Linked DNA regions of Homo sapiens: regions 1, 3 and 4 are each linked to region 2. Evidence: promoter capture Hi-C in 16 types of primary human blood cells and fetal thymus (Javierre and others, 2016). All regions are on one chromosome and are shown on one strand. Each heading gives the region's core, a stretch centred on a gene start or on the middle of the fragment in contact. The rest is flanking DNA. Distances are from core to core; before and after follow the strand shown.

The links. Contacts are between HindIII fragments. The CHiCAGO score rates a contact against its expected background, and 5 or more counts as called.
Region 1: a fragment that was not itself captured here is called in contact with the fragment with the promoter of PRSS36 in region 2 in 1 of 17 cell types (monocytes); the score reaches 7.4 in monocytes.
Region 3: a contact is called between the fragment with the promoter of RUSF1 here and the fragment with the promoter of PRSS36 in region 2, in 1 of 17 cell types (total CD4 T cells). The highest score is 5.3, in total CD4 T cells.
Region 4: a contact is called between a fragment that was not itself captured here and the fragment with the promoter of PRSS36 in region 2, in 15 of 17 cell types (M0 macrophages, M2 macrophages, M1 macrophages and 12 more). The highest score is 15.9, in M0 macrophages.

What each region holds. Positions count from the first base shown.
Region 1 is chr16:30,863,871-30,869,485 of GRCh38, reverse strand. It overlaps a transcript of BCL7C not described here. Among named protein-coding and RNA genes, the nearest start is that of MIR4519, 8.6 kb to the left of the region's middle. The HindIII fragment of the contact is 4,401 bases long and covers 1-3,541 here.
Region 2 is chr16:31,146,806-31,151,963 of GRCh38, reverse strand. It overlaps PRSS36 (serine protease 36), which reads left to right and starts at 1,898. Exons shown (of 15, transcript NM_173502.5): 1 at 1,898-1,965; 2 at 2,233-2,268; 3 at 2,466-2,501; 4 at 2,729-2,891; 5 at 3,289-3,569. The coding sequence starts at 1,929. RefSeq lists enhancers at 1,654-2,190, 2,191-2,726, 2,727-3,264. The HindIII fragment of the contact is 9,446 bases long and covers 1-4,435 here.
Region 3 is chr16:31,505,393-31,510,549 of GRCh38, reverse strand. RUSF1 (RUS family member 1) reads left to right here and starts at 2,159. Exons shown (of 13, transcript NM_022744.4): 1 at 2,159-2,476; 2 at 2,672-2,786. The coding sequence starts at 2,177. It overlaps RUSF1-DT (RUSF1 divergent transcript), which reads right to left and starts at 2,086. Exons shown (of 2, transcript NR_186401.1): 1 at 1,514-2,086; 2 at 984-1,377. RefSeq lists enhancers at 1,609-2,178, 1,743-2,457, 2,458-3,173 and silencers at 2,279-2,328, 2,389-2,448. The HindIII fragment of the contact is 29,640 bases long and covers 1-5,157 here.
Region 4 is chr16:31,450,429-31,455,947 of GRCh38, reverse strand. No RefSeq gene overlaps it. Among named protein-coding and RNA genes, the nearest start is that of ARMC5, 6.3 kb to the left of the region's middle. RefSeq lists enhancers at 1,721-2,492, 2,493-3,265, 3,846-4,140. The HindIII fragment of the contact is 3,667 bases long and covers 816-4,482 here.

The DNA of each region.
Region 1 (5,615 bases), core at 92-2,591, 280 kb after region 2:
CACCTGTAATCCCAGCACTTTGGGAGGCAGAGGCAGGAGATCCACTAGAGCTTAGGAGTTCGAGGCCAGCAACATAGTGAGAACTCATCTCTACAAAAAGTAAAAAAAAATGAGCTGGGCACAGTGGCAGGCGCCTGTAGTCCCAGCTACTCAGGAGGCTGAGGTGGGAGGATTGCTGGAACCTGGGAGGTCGAGGCTGCAGTGAGCCATGATCGTGCCACTGAACTCCAGCCTGGGTGACAGAGTGAGACCCTGTCGCAAAAAACAAAATAAAATAATGAAGGCTATAGGCTCAGAGAGGGAAAGCGATAGGCCCCGAGTGACACAGCAAAGCTGGAACTACGACTCTGGCCCCAGTCTTCAAGCTCGGCACTCTTTCTACTTTGTCTTTCCCATAACTGTCGACTCACAAAGCCATGGCCATGAAAAAATTAGATTCATGGCTGGGTGCGGTGGCTCACACCTGTAATCCCAACATTTTGGGAGGCTGAGGCAGGTGGATCATTTGAGGTCAGGAGTTCAAAAAAAAAGAAAAAATTACAGATTCATTTTAAAAGTGTAATGTGGAAGCTGAGAAGGGAGGTAAAGCAGAGGCATAACAGGCCAATTTTTTTTAAATCTTTTTTTTTTGCTGTTGTATTATTTTTCTTTTCCGTTCTGTTCTTTTTCTTTGTTGTTGCTGTTGTTTTTTGTTTTGTTTCAGATGGAGTTTCGCTCTTGTTGCCCAGGCTGGAGTGCAATGGCGCAATCTCCGCTCACCACAACCTCCACCTCCCAGGATCAAGAGATTCTCCTGCCTCAGCCTCCCAAGTAGCTGGGATCACAGGCGCGTGCCACCACACCTGGCTAATTTTGTATTTTTAGTAGAGACCAGGTTTCTCCATGTTGGTCAGGCTGGTCTCGAACTCCCGACCTCAGGTGATCTGCCCACCTCGGCCTCCCAAAGTGCTGGGATTACAGGCGTGAGCCACCGCGCCTGGCCTATTGTATTGTTTTCTATAGCTGTAACAAATTACAGCAAATTTAGTAGCTTAAAACAACACAGATTTGGCGGGGTGCGGTGACTCACGCCTGTAATCCCAGCACTTTGGGAGGCCGAGGTGGGCGGATCAGGAGGTCAGGAGATGGAGACCATCCTGGCTAACATGGTGAAACCCTGTCTCTACTAAAAATACAAAAAAAAAAAAAAAATTAGCCGGGTCGGGTGGTACACGCCTGTAGTCCCAGCTACTCGGGAGGCTGAGGCAGGAGAATCGCTTGAACCCAGGAGGCAGAGGTTGCAGTGAGCTGAGATCGCACCACTGCATTCCAGCCTGGGTGACAGAGCAAGACTCTGTCTCAAAAAAAAAAAAAAAACCCACAGATTTATCATATTACAATTCCGTAGGTCTGAAGTCTGACATGAGTCTCACTGGGCTAAAATCGAGGTGTTTCTGTTGGACAAGAGATTGTTGTAAAACAACAACAAAAAATAATAAATAAATGAAATCAAATCAGGGTGTCTTCAGGGCTGTGTTCCCTCCTGGAGGCTCTAGGGGACAGTCTGTTTCACTCTCTCTTCCAGCTTCCAGAGGCCCCTCCCTCCATCTTCAGAGTCAGTCACACTGCATTTCTGACCATTCTTCCACAATCACATCTCCCTCTGATCAAAATCAGAAATAAGTCTCTGATTTTATTTTATTTTTTTCTTTTTGAGATGGAGTCTTGCTCTGTTGCCCAGGCCGGAGTGCAGTGGCGCGATCTTGGCTCACTGTAACCTCCGCCTCCCGGGTTCAAGCGATTCTCCTGTCTCAGCCTCCTGAGTAGCTGGGATTACAGGCATGCGCCACCACGCCTGGCTAATTTGTGTATATTTAATAGAGATGGGGTTTCACCATGTTGGCCAGGCTGGTCTCGAACTCCTGACCTCAGGTGATCTGCCTGCCTCGGCCTTCCAAAGTGCTGGGATGGCCGAGTCTCTGATTTTAAAGACCAACATGATTACATTGTGCCCCCCTGGATAATCCAAGACCACCCGCATCTCAAGGTCCTTAATCACACCTGCAAAATCCCTTCACCATGTAAACTAAGACATTCACATGTTCCAGGGGTTAGGGTGTGGGAATTTTAGGACATCAGAATAATGGCCATTATTCTGCCTACCACTTATGAAACATCCATATACATAAATATTCATAGAAAAATAGTCTAAGATAGTATTACAAAACAAAATATCCTTATAACCACCACCCAAACCAAGAAATAAACATGGTCAGAATCTCAATGATACCCACCTTCCCCCAATCATGTTTTTTTGGGCCTGGAATTTTTTTGTCCATCTATTAACTTTCAACATTTTTGTCACTTTGTTTTATGTGCATTTCCTATACATTGCATATGGCTAGATTTTAAAAGTCATTTGGTTTGACAAGCTCTGACTTTTGTTTGTTTTTGAGACAGGGTATCTCCCTGTCATCCAGGATGGAGTGCAGTAGCACAATTGTAGCTCACTGTAGCCTCAAACTCCTGGGCTCAAGTGATCCTCCAGCCTCAGCCTTCTGGATAGTTGGGACTACAGGTGTGCACCACCATGCTCAGCTGATTTTTAAACTTTTTGTAGAGAAGATATCTCATTATGTTGCCCAGACTGGTCGTGAACTCTTGGCCTTATATAATCCTCCCACCTCAGCTTCCCAAAGTGCTGGCATTACAGGCATGAGACGGCACGCCCAGCAAACCTCTGACTTATAATAGGTTAATTCAGCCTGTTCATATTTATTTCAATAAGCAATATACTTTCTTTCCGCCTTATTTTACATTTACTATTTACATTTCATTAATGTTTTCCTCTGTGCCTTTTTTTTTCTTTAACTTTGGTGGGTTTCATCAAGTTCCTGTTAATTCCCACCCCCCCACCTTTTTTTTTTTTTTCCAGACAGTCTCGCTATTTTGGCCAGGCTGGAGTGCAGTGGCCCGATCTTGGCTCACTGCAACCTCTGCCACCCAGGTTCAGGCGATTGTCATGCCTCAGCCCCCTGAGTAGCTGGGACTACAGGTGCGTGCCACCACGCCTGGCTAATTTTTGTATTTTTAGTAGAGACAGCGTTTCACCATGTTCGCCAGGCTGGTCTCAAACTCCTGACCTCAAGTGATCCACCCACCTCAGTCTACCAAAGTGCTGCAATTACAGGCGTGAACCACCGCACCCAGCCTTCCCTTTGCTAACCTGCTAGTGTTTATCTTCTTTCCTAACAATCATATCCTTAAATTGCTCTATGGATACATGGTAAATAATCCTCCTCCATCAAAATATTATGCTTGCCAACTCCTCCATCACTCCCTGAAAGACGCTGCCTTTAGCATGCTTCTAACTCTCCCACTCTCCCCAGTCCTTGAGTTTTATTACTGAGATAGTTTACAATTTTTTGTTCTCGTCTATTATGAGGATTTGTTGTTGTTATAAAACCCATATGGCCGGGCGAGGTGGCTCACGCCTGTAATACCACCACTTTGGGAGGCTGAGGCAGATGGATCTCCTGACGTCAGGAGTTCGAGACAAGCTTAGCCAACATAGTGAAACGCTGTGTCTACTAAAAATACAAAAAAAAAAAAAAAATTAGGGCACTGTGGCGGGCGCCTGTAATCCCAGCTACTAGGGAGGCTGAGGCAGGAGAATCGCTTGAACCTGGGAGGTGGAGGTTGCAGTGAGCCAAGATCACGCCACTGCACTCCAGCCTGGGTGACAGAACAAGACTCCATCTCAAAAAAAAAAAAAAAAAGAAAAAAAAAGCCATATGTATGTGCACGGTAAAATGTCAGGAAATACAGATGAGGAAAAATGAGAGTAACACTATTCCTGCCACCTAGAGTCCTACTGCCAGTACCTTGAATTGGTGTTTTATTTTATTTTTATTCATTTATTTTTTAAAGATACAAGATCTCATTCTGTCACCTGGGCTGGACTGCAGTGGCATAATCATAGTTCACTGCAACCTCAAACTCCAGAGCTCAAGGGATCCTTCTGCCTCAGCCACCCAAGTAGCTGGGAATACAAAGGCACACCACTAGGCCAGGCTAATTTTCAAAAAAATTTTTTTTTTGGTAGAGACTGTCACACGCTTCCGGGTGAAGATACCACCAAACAGCAAACAGGCTTTGTGTGAGCAACAAGGCTGTTTATTTCACCTGGGTGCAGGTGGGCTGAGTCCGAAAGAGGAGTCAGCAAAGGGTGGTAGGATTATCATTAGTTCTTATGGGTTTGGAATAGGCATACAAAGTACATTCTCAAGGGTGGGGAGAGTATTACAAAGTACTTTTTTTTTTTTTTTTTTTTTGAGTTGGAGGTCTTGCTCCGTTGCCCAGGCTGGATAGAGTGCAGTGACGTGATCTCGGCTCACTGCAAGCTCCGCCTCCCAGGTTCAAGTGATTCTCCTGCCTCAGCCTCCCAAGTAGCTGGGACTACAGTTGCCTGCCACCACGCCTGGCTAACTTTTTGTATTTTTAGTAGAGATGGGGTTTCACCGTGTTAGCCAGGATGATCTCGATCTCCTGACCTTGTGATCCGCCAACCTCGGCCTCCCAAAGTGCTGGGATTACAGACAAAGTACCTTCTTAAGGGCAGGGGAGAATATTACAAAGTACCTTCTTAAGGGTGGGGGGGTGGGGGTGGGGGGGAGAATATATCGCATCAGTTAGGGTGGGGCAGGAACAAATCACAGTGGTGGAATGTCATCAGTTAAGGCTATTTTCACTTGTGGATCTTCAGTTGCTTCAGGCCATCTGGATGTATACGTGCAGGTCACAGGGGATATGATGGCTTAGCCTGGGCTCAGAGGTCTGACATTCCTGTCTTATATTAATAAGAAAAACAAAACAAAATAGTGGTGAAGTGTTGGGGCGGTGAAAATTTTTGGGGGTGGTATGGAGAGATAATGGGTGATGTTTCTCAGGGCTGCTTCGAGCAGGATTAGGGGCAGCGTGGGAACCTACAGTGGGAGAGATTAAACTGAAGAAAGATTTTGGGGTAAGGGGTGATATTGTGGGGTTGTTAGAAGGAGCATTTGTCATATAGAATTATTGGTGATGGCCTGGATGCAGTTTTGTATTAATTGAGAAACTAAACAGAAGACACAAGATCTGAATAAAAGAAGGAGAAAAATAGGTATTAAAGGACTAAGAATTGGGAGTACTCAGGACATCCAATTAGAGAGTGTCCAAGGGGGTTCAGCATAATTATTTGCTTGGTTGGCGAGTTTTTGGGCTCTATCCTTGAGTTTTTTTATGTTGTCATATACCAGGCCAGATTGATTTAGGAAAAAACAACACTCTTCATTTAAAAATATACAGAGTCCTCCTTTTTCAGCAGTGAGTAAATCAGGGCCTCGGTGATTTTGGAGGAAAGAGAAATGCAAAACCAGCAATTATTTGTTAAAGAAGGATTAGAAACGGCTAGGAGAGAGTCAGTGAGATTGATAGTGTGATGGAGATAGCTGGGGAGAGGTAGAGGGTGACGTAAGAATGGGAACGAGAATAAGAGTGAGTATAAAAGTAAAGAATAGGACTTCATCAGGGTGAAAGAATTGGAGTGTGCCCTGTCAGCAAAGATCATCTATCCACTCCAAGAGGGAGTCAAGAGT
Region 2 (5,158 bases), core at 649-3,148:
CAGCCTGGGCAACATAATAAGACCCCATCTCTACAAAAATAAAAAACATTAGCTGGGTATGGTGGTGCGTGCCTGTAGTCCCAGCTTCTCAGGAGGCTGAGGCCAGAGGATCGCTTAAGCCCAGGAATTCGAGGTTACAGTGAGCTATAATCACAGCACTGCACTCCAGCCTGGGTGACAGAGTGAGACCGTGTCTCTAAAATTTTTTAATTGGTTTAATTAAAAATAGAGAGGATGAGATGAGAGTGAGATGGGGATTTTTCTTTCCCCACTCCCTCTCTGCTGGTAAAGGCTGCATTTCTCTATTGAAGGCCACGGCTCCTAACAGCTATCTCTTCCATAGCTGCAGCTCTTGCTGGGTTCCAGTAACTGCCCCCTCTCTGCCTCTTCAGGCCAGCAGGTAGCAAGGGCTCTCTATTATTGCTGGCCCCAGGATGCGTTACCATCCCTCTTTGGTTTCCTTTTTTTTTTTTTTTTTGTGAGACGGAGTTCGCTCTTGTCACCCAGGCTAGAGTGCAACGGCGCTATCTTGGCTCACTGCAACCTCCACGTCCTGGGTTCAAGCATTTTTATCTGCCTCAGCCTCCCTAATAGGTGGGATTACAGGTGAGTTCCACCACACTCGGCTAATTTTTGTATTTTTAGTATAGATGGGGCTTCTCCAAGTTAGCCAGGCTGGTCTTGAACTCCTGACCTCAGGTGATCTGCCCGCCTCGGCCTACCAAAGTGCTGGGATTACAGCCGTGAGCCACCCAGCCTCTTTGGTTTCCTTTGACCCTGCCTACACTTCTATAAATAGTTTCTTCCTTAAACTCTCTTCAACTCCTCTTTGAAGAGCCATATGTTTCTTTCTTCTTCTTATTCTTCTTTTTTTTTTTCTTTTTGTTGTTGTTGTTGAGACAGGGTCTCGCTTTGTCACCCAGGCTGGAGTGCAGTGGCACAATCATAGCTCACTGCAACCTCGACCTCCCAGGCTCAAGCAATCCTCCCACCTCATCTCCCGAGTAGCTGGGATACAGACGTGCACCACCACGCCCTGCAGTTCATAATTTTTGTATTTTTTAATTTTTTGTAGAGATGGGGTCTTGCTATGTTGACCAGGCTGGTCTTGAACTCCTAGCCTCAAGCAATCCTCCCACCTCAGTCTCCCAGAGTGTTAGGATCACAGGAGTGAGCCACCGTGCTCGGCCAAGTCATATGTCCCTTAAACTGGCTCTTACTGATACACACCAAGAGGTTGGGTTACTTTCCCAAAGTCACACAGAGTAAGTGACAGGGCAGCTAAGAGCATTGTCACTGGAACACAGAGCAGGGTGGAGGCTTTTTCAGCCTCGCCAGCCTGCCCAGCCCCCTCCCAGGGTCCCTATGCCCTGCCCAACCTGCTGGAATCTGTGATCCTTTTGTTGGGATGGGATTGAATTCCCTAGGGCTCCTGTCCCAGACCTGGCCAGCAGCTCCAGTAACCAGAGCTGTGTGAGAAGAAAAGGCCAAGCCACTGGGGCAGCCGCACCCCAAACAGAGGTGAGGTCTCCGATGAGTCATGCCCGTGAGGGGCCACTTCCCCTGTCCTAAGGGCCACTGCTCACCAAGGACACAGAACACTGTCCTCCTCTTTGACCTTTGCCTGCAGTGTTTTTCATCCCTCCCTCTCCCACCCAACAGGTGTCCAGGAGCTAGGACACCTGTCCTCCACCCCCACCCTGGGCCTCCAGAGACATGAGATGTGCGCAGGGCTCTGGGTGGGGCCTTCAGGCTCCCCAGCTTCCCCCTTCCAGCCCCAGATCCTCTCAGATTCCCAGAGATGGGCTCCAGCCAGGGAGGGTGGGGCTGCCCCTGGGACCATCAGGAGTCACGGGCTGCCTGGGCAGTGACAGAGCCCTGCAGGGAGCAGACCTTCACTTGGCTCTGCCTCCGCTGACTCTAGCGCCATGGCCCGGCACCTGCTCCTCCCCCTTGTGATGCTTGGTAACCTCAGGGGACAAGAGTGGCTGCAAAGGGCCTGGGTCCTGGCATCTGGGGGGCTGGAGAGCAGGATTCCTGGTTTCTGTGTGGGGAGCAGGAAGTCAGAGAGAAGGAAGTGAGGCAGCAGAAGGCGAGGATGTATCAGAGGAGGGAGAGGGAGGCCTGGGTGCCCTGGGGAGACGGAGGCTAGGAGGCTGGGGGAGGGAGTCAGGGAGGGCACATACTGAGTGCGAGTCGCCAGCCTCTTCCTGCCTACCTCTGTCTTTCCAGTCATCAGTCCCATCCCAGGAGCCTTCCAGGACTCAGGTAAGGTAGCCGGACTGGGGGAAAGTCACGTGCAGAGGCAGAAAAGACCAGAGGACTGGCATGGGTGCTGGCAGGGGTTGCTGAACGGACAGGGAAGTGGGAAGATAGGGTCGGGGGTTGGAGAGCAGGAAGTGGGGCTGGGCGGTGCAGGCCTGGAAGTCACAAGTGTCCTCCTCTCTTTCCCCTCTGGCTCCCAGCTCTCAGTCCTACCCAGGAAGAACCTGAAGATCTGGGTAAGGAAGAGGCCTTGGCACCCTCAGACCTTAAAGGAGGCTAAGGCTGGTCAGGCCATGAGGGAGGTGGAAAAGACCAGAAATGTAGACAAGCCTGGGTCCTCTATGTTCTTTGTTCAGAGGGGCAAACTGAAGTGGGTGGAGGACGGGCCTTCGTCCTGAGTTACCTGGGCTTCTGGAGTGGGGAACCCGAGGGGAGCTTTGGCTTCCACGGCTCCCCGTTGCAGACTGCGGGCGCCCTGAGCCCTCGGCCCGCATCGTGGGGGGCTCAAACGCGCAGCCGGGCACCTGGCCTTGGCAAGTGAGCCTGCACCATGGAGGTGGCCACATCTGCGGGGGCTCCCTCATCGCCCCCTCCTGGGTCCTCTCCGCTGCTCACTGTTTCATGACGTGAGTATTCGCCCTGGTCCTGGCCCCTCTCCGCCAAAAGCTGGCCCCCGCCCCCGCAGTTGGTCCCCTCCTCCCGCCCCACTTCCGTCCTCAAGGATAATTTGGAGCCAAGCTGTCCCCAAAGCGAGGTGCTATTCGAGGCATCATGGTTCCGAGTGGGGCAAGGCTGCCGGACTGGTCCCACCACTCCACTCAATATCCGGGTCTGAATCCCATCTTTCCAATGACCCCCCCACCACCAGCTCCAAATCGGATTTGCTCTTCCCCTTTGAGGAGTATCAGCACCAAATCTGGATCGGATAGCACCTGCCCCTCTGGCTCTGAGCCCCTGCCCCCAACGAGGGTCTGCCCCCTCCATAGGGTCAACCTAACCTCCTACTGCCCCGGTCGAGCGCAGGAATGGGACGCTGGAGCCCGCGGCCGAGTGGTCGGTACTGCTGGGCGTGCACTCCCAGGACGGGCCCCTGGACGGCGCGCACACCCGCGCAGTGGCCGCCATCGTGGTGCCGGCCAACTACAGCCAAGTGGAGCTGGGCGCCGACCTGGCCCTGCTGCGCCTGGCCTCACCCGCCAGCCTGGGCCCCGCCGTGTGGCCTGTCTGCCTGCCCCGCGCCTCACACCGCTTCGTGCACGGCACCGCCTGCTGGGCCACCGGCTGGGGAGACGTCCAGGAGGCAGGTGAGTGGGACGGGACAAGAGGGGAGGGCCTCGGGGAGGTGGGGCTTCGAGAGGTGAGGTTCCTAGGGCGGGGCCTCAGGAGGTGGGGCCACGGAGCGGAGCCTGCGGGGAGCGTTGGAGGGTAGGTTTCTGCGGGTCGGTGGATGAATCCCACACCGATCTCCATGTAGCCTTCTCCCTGCAAGGATTCTCAAACTAAGACCACGGAATCACCCACACGCACCCCATTCCCTCCTTACCTGTCCTTCCAGTTTTTTCTTTCCTGGGTTTAGGCTCCGACTAGGGTTCCCATCCCAGCTCTAACATGTCAGACAAAGCACTTCACCCAGTACATTTCCTCATCTGTAACACGAGGAAAATAGCCATACCCACTTCAAGGGGTGGTTGAGTGGATTAAATGAGAAAATCCATGTAAAGTTCATAGTACAGTGCCTGGCATAGCAATAACCAATGCACTTTACATATTTCACCTCAGGTAATCTATAGTAAAGCACTACAGCATAAGGCTGGCCTATAATAGATATTCAGCAAATGCCAGTCTGTGCCTCCCTCCCATCCGCCTTCCTCTCATTCCATCCACCCCCACTCATCTCTCTACTCCCCACCTCCTCTCTTCTTCCTACCCACCATCATTCATTCAATCATTCTTTCACTCAAGATATTTCTTGAGCACCTTCTACATGCCAGGCACCGTGTTAGGCATTAGAGAGACACCAGTGAACATAAAAAGCCAAAATCCTGCCTTTTCAGAGTTTACATCCTAGGAGATAGACAAGCAACAAATTCAATAAATAAGCACGCATTATGTTAGAAGGTGGGGGGGAATAGACCAAATCTCCATCCCCATCATCCCCATCACCCAAGCTTTCCATGCTCCCAGGGCCCCCACAAATATCCACATCAGCCGTGGTCAGACCTGTGCCCATCCTCGGGGCTTTGGGTAGGTGCTACAGGGGAAGATGCTACAGCCTCTGCTTGTGGAGGTCCCATCAGGGCAGGAGGTGATGAGGAAGCGTCACTGTGAGCCCCAGGAAGTCTGTGTGAATGGGGCCAGGCCATCCTAACAATGGGCACCCAGAGAGGGAGATTTCTGCAGAGATTTTTGAAGAGAGGGTACATTGCAGGAAGATGGGGGGAGATGAAGGCCACCCTGTGGACCCAGATAAGTCATGTTAGATGAAGAAGGGCCAGGATGCCAGGCTGGAGTGAGAGGGGTACAGGCACCTGGGCTGCAAAGGCTGCTGTGGCCCGGCCATGAAGACCTTAAGATCAGACTGAGGGCCAGAGCACCCCACCAGCTCCAGGGACGCCCAGGACAATCCCCAACTTCCCTGGTGAGCCCCAAGTACAGCTTCAGCCATCACCTGACCTCAAATTCTTTTCTTTTTTTCATCAATTCTTTTTTTCTTTTTGAGACAGAGTTTCACTCTTGTTGCCCAGGCTGGAGTGCAACGGCGCGATCTAGGCTCACTGCAACCTCCGCCTCCCAGCTTCAAGCAGATTCTACTGCCTCAATCTCCCAAGTAGCTGGGATTATAGGCACCCACCACCACGCCCAGCTAATTTTTTGTATTTTTAGTAGAGACAGG
Region 3 (5,157 bases), core at 910-3,409, 360 kb before region 2:
AGCTGGCCTCAACGGCTCATGCCTATAATCCTAGCATTTTGGAAGACCGAGGCGGGAGGCCTGGGCAACACAGAGAGACCCCAACTTAAATTTTTGTTAAAAAATTTCCCTTGGCCGGGCACAGTGGCTCATGCCTGTAATCCCAGCACTTTGGGAGGCGAGGCAAGCAGATGAGTTGAGGCCAGGAGTTCAAGACCAGCCTGGCCAACATGGCAAAACCCCGTCTCTACTAAAAATACAAAAATTAGCTGGGTGTGGTGGTGAATGCTTGTAACCCCAGCTACTCCGGAGGGTGAGGCAGGTGAATCACTTGAACCCAGGAGGTGGAGGTTGCAGTAAGCCAAGACTGTGCCACTGCACTCCAGCCTGGGTGACAGAGGGAGACTCCATCTCAAAAAAAAAAGTTTCCCTTGATTCCACTGATTAGCTCAATTCTCCTTCTAAAAGTCCTCATATTAAATAACATGTACCCCTCTACAGCAATTGAAATAGTTCCAACTTTGCATTTATTTGTATGATTTGATCAATATCCTTCCCTAATATAAGTTCCAAAAGACCAAGACCCTTGTTTGTTTTTGCTCACTATCCCAATGAGCACATAGGTAGCAACAGGTATTTGTAGAAGAAACTGGCAAACCATTGGTAAAAAAGAGATAACAAACACGGAGTTAATGACAACTGCACGGTTCAAGCGATTTTCTTGCCTCCGCCTCCCGGATAGCTGGGATTATGGCCACACCACCCCCACGCCCAGCTAATTTTTGTATTTTTAGTAGAGATGGGGTTTCAACATGTTGGCCAGGCTGGTCTTAAACTCCTGACCTCAAGTGATCCACCTGGCTCGACTTCCCAAAGTGCTGGAATTACAGGCGTGAGCCACCACGCCCAGCCCAAGGATCACTTTTGAGGCCAGGAGTTTGAGAGCAGCCTGGGCAACATAGGGAGGCCCTGCCTCTATTTAAATAAATATGTTTTTAAAGTACTTAGTCTTCAAACCTTGTTTTATTTTTGTCCTCTATTCAAACCAGTACCTGAATTTAGACAACATTACAGAAATGTTGTGATTAGGCCATTTGTATTTTGAAACCCGAAATTTAAAGAAAAAAAAAAAGAAAAGAAAAGAAGTGTTCAAGTTTATCTCAGTCAGAGAGAGACTGTGTTTGTGTGAGATAAGGCGAAGTGGGGTAGAAGGGCCTTCCAGGATTAAGTCCACGAGGAAGGTGACGGTTTGGGAGAATCTGAAGTTTCAAATAAGGAGTTGTCGGTTGGGATCAAACTGTGGGGATCCAAGAATGCCAGGCTAAGAAACCAGGATATTTTATTTTCTGATAAAAAGAGGATGCTTTTTTGGCAAATTTCTGCTTCGGAGTGAAGATGCTGCACTAGATGGGAAGGAGAAGAGGAGAAATGGAAAGAAGAAAAGGTGAGTTCCAAGGACAGAAACACTCCCTCTTTGGACTCCCCCCAATTTCATGGACTCTCTCCCGCAAAAAAACACACAAGAACTTCCTGCCTTGTTTCCTTGTTTTGTGACATCATTGCAATCTCTTGATTTTTTTCATCCCTCGGATTCCTTAGCATCCTTCAAAAGTAATGTTCCTGCAGTCTCGCAGAAGGCCGAAGGATGGAGAATTTCTAGTCCAGGCCAGGGACACTCAGAAGAGAGAAAAAAAAAAGAACAAAAAAAGACCCAAGCAGCTTCACAGGGCCTCATCTGGTCCAATTTCTTCTCATGATGCATTCATTCACTCATAAATATCTTTTGAGCACCTACTATGTGTTGGGTAGATCTAGGGATAAAATCAGGGTTAAAAATACAGTCGCTGGTCTCACAGCAAAAAAGGCACCTGAGGCCCAGAGAGGGCCACTGACTTGCCAAAAGTCACAAGCTAAAACTTCTGTGGCCGAACCGCGTCTCGAACACAACTGGCGGAGGCCCACGGCGCCTGCAGCCCAGCTGCAGAATGCTACAAAGCAACGGGGGCCGGTGCCGGGGCGTCCGAAGCAGCGCCGAGGCCGGAGAGAGCGACAGTCAGTTTCCTAACTGCGCGGCGGACGCCGAGGCCGGCGCCTGTTCTTGAAAGATGTCCCTCTGCAGCCGCGGTAGCCCAGCCGGAAGTGCCGCCTGCCACGTCCACCGTGCGGCAGGGGCGGGGCTGGGATCCAAAAGCTCGGCATGGCTGACGACGCGGGTTTGGAGACCCCGCTGTGTTCCGAGCAGTTCGGCTCCGGGGAGGCACGGGGCTGCCGCGCCGCCGCGGACGGGAGCCTGCAGTGGGAGGTCGGGGGCTGGCGCTGGTGGGGGCTCTCCAGGGCCTTCACGGTCAAACCTGAAGGACGAGATGCGGGCGAAGTGGGGGCTTCCGGGGCCCCCTCACCGCCCCTCTCCGGGCTCCAGGCCGTGTTCCTGCCTCAGGGCTTCCCTGATAGCGTCAGCCCGGACTACTTGCCCTACCAGCTGTGGGATTCCGTGCAGGTCAGCTCGGTCGTCTGGGGCAGAGGACAGTGCAGGCCACTCCTCCCTCCCCAATAATGGACGGGTGACTGAGACTCGGAGCCCGGGGGGCGGGGGGTCTGACATGCCTCATACACCAAGAACAAGAACAGATGAAGGCACTTAGACCGCCACGCTCCTACGCCCGCTTCTCACCCTACTTGTTTTCTTCTCCAGGCGTTTGCTTCCAGCCTCTCCGGCTCCCTAGCCACCCAGGCAGTCTTGCTGGGCATAGGGGTGGGGAACGCAAAAGCCACTGTTTCAGCTGCCACGGCCACCTGGCTCGTGAAAGGTGAGCTGCACCCCTGGAGCCTCACGTATTGCTGCTTTCAGCCCTGCTTTCGCTGGGCTCTTATGTGTATATATGTATGGACTCGTGCCCCATTAGGTAGAATTCAGGCAGGTCTCCCCAGTGATTAGAGTGGTGCTTTGTAACCCAGTCTTACTTCCCACATCTGGAAGACCCTCATCCCACTCACCAGCCTAGCAGCCGCACTCCATTCCCCACACAGACTTCTGAGTCTCAATCATCTGGATCCCAAATCCCGTCCCCTCCCCTTTATCCCTATTCTCTTTGTGGAAGATTGCATAAGAATGCAATTGATGGAATAAAACTGCCAGCTGCCCAGGATAGGGGAAATTGGTGAGCTCCAGAAAAAAAAGATATAGTTGGTCCTGAGAAGGAGAGAGGAGAGCCTGGAAAGAATGGAAGGTATTGTGTATGCTCTGGGATACCAGATGATGCTGTAAATAATAGAGTGACTATCTGCTGAATATGTACAGCTTTTAAAAAATTGTTTAAGGAAAAAAAATACAGTTTGGTACCATGCCACCCAGAGAGGGAAATAGAACAGAAAAGGGAAATTGTTACATGTTCTACACGAGGAGGCCCCATGGCTTTTGCCACTGTCCTTTGTCTTTCACTACTGCTCGCAGGGGATATTTATTAGGCTGGTGCAAAAGTAATTGCGGGGTTTCTTTGTCGTTATTGCCATTAAAGGTAATGGAAAACCCGCAATTACATTTGAGCCAACCTAATAGATCTAAGGAAAAGCGCTTTCCATTCGTAGCATCAGTCTGGCCACATCCCTTGTGAGCCTCTCTGGATTTTTTTGAGAAAACAGGAGCTTCCTGTTTACACCTTTACCATTAAGACTGAGAAAACTGGGCCGGGCACGGTGGCTCACGCCTTTAATCCTCGTACTTTGGGAGGCTGAGGCATCCTGGGCAACATAGGGAGACCCCCATCTCTATTTTTTTTTTTCCAGACTCGTAGTCTCACTGTCACCCAGGCTGGGATGCAGGAGTGCAGTGGCACAATCTCAGCTCACTGCAGCCTCCTCCTCCCGGGTTCAAGCGATTCTCCTGCCTCAGCTTCCCAAGTAGCTGGGATTACAGGCATGTGCCACCCTGCCCCGCTAATTTTTTGTATTTTTAGTAGAGACAGAGTTTCACCATGTTGGCCAGGCTGGTCTCGAACTCCTGACTTCGGGTGATCCATTCGCCTCAGCTTCCCAAAGTGCTGGGATTATAGGCGTGAGCCACTGCGCCCGGCTTGTTGGCCGTATTTTTGGAATGCATTTGGAGCTTGGGTCAGTAGTTTTTGTTTTCATGTGATGTCACCAACATGTTGCCTATACAGATTGAATATCCCTTATCCAAAATGCTTGCAACCAGAAGTGTTTTGGATTTTGGAATTTTTTTTGGATTTTGGAATATCTTCATGTATATAATGAGATTTGTTGGGGATCAGACTCAAGTCTAAACATGAAATTCGTTTATGTTTCATATATACTTTATACACATACCTTAAAGGCAGTTTTATACAGTATTTTCAATGGTGTGCATGAAACAAAGTTTGTGTTCATTGATCCATCAGAAAGCAAAGATGTCACTGTCTCAGCCACACGTGGACAATCTGGTTGGTTAGCGTCCCCATCGTTCCTGACTCTGAATGTATATGCTACCAAGAAGCAGTCATTTTCTTATACCTATTCACACAGAAGTACTTAACAGTATAAAACATGATATACCACTAATACAGTGAGAAATTGTGTGTTCAGGGTAACTAAGCAGCACAGCAGATCACCAGAACACCTGTATCAGCTTCTGAACCATAGCAGCAGCAACAAAAACGGCAGGCTGTCAGTCTTCAGCTGTTTTGGTGAAAAGGTTACTGGACACCATATTTTATTTTTTTAAGGTGAGAAGAAACATTAGAAGCAGTTGAAGGACAGGAAGCGGGTCCTCTAGGGATGAGGAAGTGTTCTGCTGGATGGCTTTTTAAAATGTTTCCTCCAGAGTCATTTGCCTCATTAACTGTGGTTTCTATCTTAGAAGTCTCTCTTGGATTCTATAAACTGCCTGATTTCTTGTTCCGTTATGAATGTATGCTGCTCTAGTGCCACAGTAATCCCCTCCCACATCCTCACCGTGCTGTCTATAGGCACTTTTTCTGTAGTGGTAACAGTATCCTCTTCATTGTCACTGTTACCATGATTGCCTTGATTCAGAACTGAAGGAGGCCAGCCCTTCCACACTGTGGGTATTTCTCATCAGGTGGGACGAGAGACTGAGAAAAGAAATAAGACACAGAGACAGAGTATAGAGAAAGAACAGTGGGCCCAGGGGACCGGCACTCAGCATGCGGAGGACCAGCACCA
Region 4 (5,519 bases), core at 1,400-3,899, 300 kb before region 2:
GCCAGGGATGACTCGGCAGACCTCAGTTTCCCTCTGCCTCCTGCCTAGAGCTGTTAGCAAGCATCCATCATGCGGCTCACACAAGAGCTCCCCCCGGAGGTTACAGAAATGAAGGCAGCAGCCCCAGTCCTTGGGTAGCCTGTTTCCCCTTGAAGGAAACAGACTCAATATCAGCAACACAGAGTGAATGACGCCAGGGTGGCGAACGGGCCTTTCCTGGAGCAAATGCGGGAGGCTTCATGGAGATGACGTGTAATGAACAGCACTCATCTCAGGCTGGGAGCAGCACATGCCCCCGGCAGGGAGTCAGTGATGAGGTATGGGGTTCTTGACATCTTCCTCACCCAGGACCCTTCAGAGAGTACGAGCCAGGGTTTGAGTGAAGGGCCTGAGCCCAGCACATGCATGGTAGGCACTCAAAGAATAATTGTCATGATCAGGTCCTTTTTACACTGCTTACTAGTGGCCTTTAAGCCTCAGTTTCCTCACAGTTGCCTTGAGTGAGTGTCAAGTGTTGTAGACCTCTGCAAAATTCATAACTGCTTAAGAATATTAGGTATGGGTAGAGTAGGCTTGGAAGGAGGATTGGTTTGCAGAATCCCTTTCAGAGACCTGTAATCTAATTTCTCACATTAGGGCTAATACTCCTGGGACCCCTCTCCTCTCCAATTGCATAAAACAGGTTCTGACCAGAACAGCGAGGCAGGCCAGACCTCAGAAGCAGAGGGACGGGCTTAATCTAACAGGAGTTTATCCCATGTCCTGCATCCACTGTACCCTGTGCTGGGTTTAGAAGTAGCTTCACTGTCCAAGCTTGTGACCCAGTGCCCAAGCCCGAGATGGGAAACACATTTGTTTTGGCTGTGTGTGTGTGTGTGTGTGTGTGTGTGTGTGTGTGTGTGTGTTTTCAAACAAGCCAAGATTTTTACTTTTTGAGTTCCATTTTGTTGCCCAGGCTGGTCTCTGAAACTTCCAGGCTCAAGCAATCCCCCTGCCTCAGCCTCCCAAAATGCTGGAATTACAGGTGTGAGCTACCATGCCCATTTATTTATTTATTTATTTATTTATTTATTTTTGAGACAGAATCTCACTCTGTCATCCAGGCTGGAGTGCAGTGGTGCAATTGTGGCTCACTGTAGCCTCAACCTCCTGGGCTCAAGTGATCCTCCCACCTTAACCTCCCAAGGAGCTGGGACTACAGGCATACACCACCACACCTGGCTAATTTTTTGATTTTTAAAAAATGTTTTGTAGAGACGGGGTCTCACTGTGTTGCCCAGGCTGGTCTTGAACTCCTGAGTTCAAGTGTTCCTCTGGTCTCAGCCTCCCAAAATGCTGGGATTACAGATGTGAGCCACCTAACCTGGTCTTTTTATTTTTTTAAAGAGCCAACATTTAAATAAGGAGATTTCACATCACAGTCGATTTCTGGGGCTTGGTTTGTTGTTGTTTTTTTTGTTTTTTTTTTTTTTTAATTGAGACAGGATCTTGCCAGGTTGCAGACTGGTCTTGAACTCCTAGGCTCAAATGATCCCCTCCTGGCCGGGCACGGTGGCTCACGCCTGTAATCCCAGCACTTTGGGAGGCCTAGGTGGGCGGATCACGAGGTCAGGAGATCGAGACCTTCCTGGCTAACAAGGTGAAATCCTGTCTCTACTAAAAATACAAAAAATTAGCTGGAAATGGTGGCAGGCGCCTATAGTTCCAGCTACTCAAGAGGCTGAGGCAAGAGAATGGCATGAACCCAGGAGGCAGAGCTTGCAGTGGGCGGAGATCCTGTCACTGCAATCCAGCCTGGGTGACAGAGCAAGACTCCGTTTCAAAAAAAAAAAGAAAAGATCCCCTGCCCCGGCCCTTCCCTCCCCCACCCACCTCGGCTTCCGAAAGTGGTAGGATTACAGGCGTCAGTCACCACACCCGGCCTGCTTTATTATTTATATCAGAAGATGCTGCAACATTGGATTTTTATGGCAGCAGTTCGTTGAGTAGTGGCTGTCCTGGACATAGGAACAGGGACACTCCCTCTTGCATCCCTGACTCAGCACGTTTCATATGTGTTACTTGCCTGTCCCCTGCAGAAAAGTACTTGAGGTTACAGTCTCCATCCCACCCCACTGTGGGTGAGAAGGACCTTTCCATGCAGTGAAGGCACTTTTCCCCTTTCCTTCACCCCTTCCTGTTCCCTTCTCTGCCGTTTTCCTTCTTCTCCCCCAGAACTCCTCTGTGAAATACCTGGCCTCCTTCCCTGAGCCTCCCTGTCTCCCTGCCACCCCATCTCCACTCCGTGCTATGACATCACCCCGTAATTTGAAGCTCCTTTCCCTATCTGAAGGGAGGCAGAGACAGAGTGCACAGGCTCAACTAGGCAAGGCAGACCCTTGCATGCCTGGGTCAGAGGTCAGGGTCTCTGGCACACATTCCTCCCAGAGCAACTGTAGGAAGCAAGCCAGTACAGAGGTACTCTAAGCGCTAGACAGGACGGGGTGGGAGTCGGTAACATCGTCTCCTCTGGGCTGGCCCTGCTTCTGCTTAGCTCTGGGCATAAGACTGACTCCAGTACAGTCACAGTTATGTCTCTGAGCTCACCCAGTCCTGGGTTCCAGGTTCCCAGCTCTGAGCCTGGCGAGACACACACAGGCTGGTGCTGTGGGATGTCTTGGTACGGTGGCTCACGCCTGTATTCCCAGCGCTTTGGGAGGCCGAGGTGGGCAGATCACCTGAGGTCAGGAGTTCGAGACCAGGCTGCCCAACGTGGTGAAACCCTGTCTCTACCAAAAATATAAAAATTAGCCAGGCATGGTGGCACGTGCCTGTAATCCCAGCTACTTGGGAGGTTGAGGCAGGAAAATTGCTTGAACCCAGGAGGTGGAGGTTTCAGTGAGCCAAGATCGTGCCACTGCACCCCAGTTTGGATGAAAGAGTGAGACTCCGTTTCAAAAAAAAAACAAAAAAAACAAAACCAAAAAATAAAAAAACACATCAGCTTGACATTTTGGAGGCATTCCCAGACTCAGGGTTAGTCAGCAGATTAGCATTTAAAAGAAAGTCTTGTCCCTACAGATTCCCTGACCTCAGCTACCCATGAAGGGTGGGAAGAGGAGTCCTTAGCAAGAAGTCCAGGAAGTTGACAACCTCCTCAGACCTGATAGGACACTCCTCTCTCCACCCTGCCTCCTGACTGATTTAATCTCAGGGGTGTGAGGACCTCTGAGATAGGCCCCAGGAGTCTCACCCGCACCACTTATGTCTCAGGGCTAACCAGAGACTCCCTGAAACAGATCCTAGAGGATTCCCAAGTGATAGGATAAATAGAGAGGTACTGAGACTTCCTGGCGTGGGTGACCTCTCCCAGGCTGGCCAACCTCCCCCATTCAGAAATTTGCTGAGCACCAGGAGTGAATGAAGTAAAGGAAGCCCCTAGGAGTTCAAGAAGCAGAGATTTCCAGGTCCATGCACCAAAGCTCATGTGCTCAATTCTCAGGAAAGGCCTCACTCAGTTAAAAAATTTTGTATCATGAAAGGGTAAATGAATTAATTAGTGAATCTGGTTTCTAAGCCAATGGCTTACTAGAAATATTATAGTAAATCAGAAAAAAAAAAAAAGGCGGTGGCTCACACCTATAATCCCAGCACTTTGAGAGGCTGAGGTGAGAGGATGCTTTGAGCCCAGGAGTTCGAGACTAGCCTGGGCAACATAGCAAACCCCATCTCTAGAAAAAATTAAAAAACCAGCCAGGTGTGGTGATGTTCACTGTAGTCCCAGCTATTCAGGAGGCTGAGGCAGGAGGACCGCTTGAGCCCAGGAATTTGAGACTGCAGTGAGCTAGGATTGTGCCACTGCACCCCAGCCTGGGCAACAGAGTGAGACCCTGTCTCTAAAAAAATAATTTTTTTTAAAGATAATTCTTCAAAGGAGATCCGCTCTTCCTTTCCTACACCCATTCCCTTTCCTCCCTTTCCTGAACAATGCTGTCTTACAGCCTCTAGGGGCAGGCAGAGCCAAAGAGGCCTCTGCCGGGTGTGGGGAGTGAGACGCAGCAGGCCAGAGCATGTATCAGAGCTCCAGCAGGTGGGGGAGGGTGTCCACACGAGAAGGTGGCCTGGCTTGGCATGGCAGAACCTGATAGGATTAGGAAGGCATCAGCCACGGGAAGGAGATGGCGAGAGAGATAAGAAACTGCTTCCACCAGCTATTGGTCAAATAAGTACACATTTGAAAGATAACAGCCAGGTTTCTCAGTGTCAGAGAAAACCGAGACACAGCTCGGGAAAGGGAGAAAATGTGGGTGGGGAGACCCTTGTGGTGTCGAATTGGAACTGGAGGTATAGGAGTAGACTCAGGATTTTCAGAAAGTGTTTAGATAGACATAGAAATTAGTATGGGTGTGTATATGTGTATGTGCACGCAGATGTGTGTAAATGTCCATATATTCCCTAGCTCTGGAAAGCCCTGGAGCAGTGCCATCCCAATAACAAAAAGCTTTTTATGGTTTTTTGAGATAGGGTCTCTCCCTCACCCAGGCTGGGGTGCAGTGGTGCGACCACAGCCCACTGCAGCCTCGACTTCCTGGGCTCAGGTGATCCTCCTGTGTCAGCCTCCCAAGTAGCTGGGACTACAGGCATATGCCACCACACCCAGCTAATTTTTAATTTTTTTTTTTTGTAGGGACGGGTCTTGCTACGTTGCCCAGGATGGTCCTGAACTCCTGGGCTCAAGCAATCCTCCCACCTCAGTCTCCCAAAGTGCTGGGACTACAGGTGTAACAGTTTTAAGGTAATCAGAATCAAGAAATGATTGAGGTGATGCTCTGGAATAATGGGGACTAGAGAGTCGTGACAACTAAATGCAATGTGTGGTGTGGTAGCATTTTTCTGGGCTGTAGTCCCTAGATGGGTAGAGAAGAAAGCCCCGGAGAGGGTGAAGAGGTGGGGATGTGGAAGACGTCAGAGAGAGCACAGGGCAGAGCGCAGAGAACTGCATCCACAGGCCTCGCCATGCCCCCAGCATGGCTGCACCACACCAGCAGATGCCTTCGCTTCCCAGCAGTGGACACAGGTCACTGGATCCTCACAAATGAGCAGCCAGGAGAATGTTTGCAGCCTGGAGATTCGGGGCTTTGTCAGCACCTTGGGAAGGTTTTGTTCTTGGGTTTTGGGTTTTTGGTTTTTGGATTTTTTTGGTAACAATATCGCTATATTTATTCTCCTGCAGTACACTTTTAAATTGCTTCAACATTTTCCCCTTAAAATAAAAAAGAACAACAACAAAAAAATTCCAAACCTTAGAATTGAAATATTTGGCCTTTTCTCTCTCTCTTTTTTTTTTTTTTTTTTTTTTTTGAGATGGAATCTCGCTCTGTCGCCTAGGCTGGAGAGCAGTGGCGCGATCTCAGCTCACTGCAACTTCTACCTCCTGGGATCAAGCGATTCTCCTGCCTTACCCTCCTGAGTAGCTGGGACCACAGGCGCATGCCACCATACCAGGCTAGTTTTTTTTTGTTTTGTTTTGTTTTGTTTTG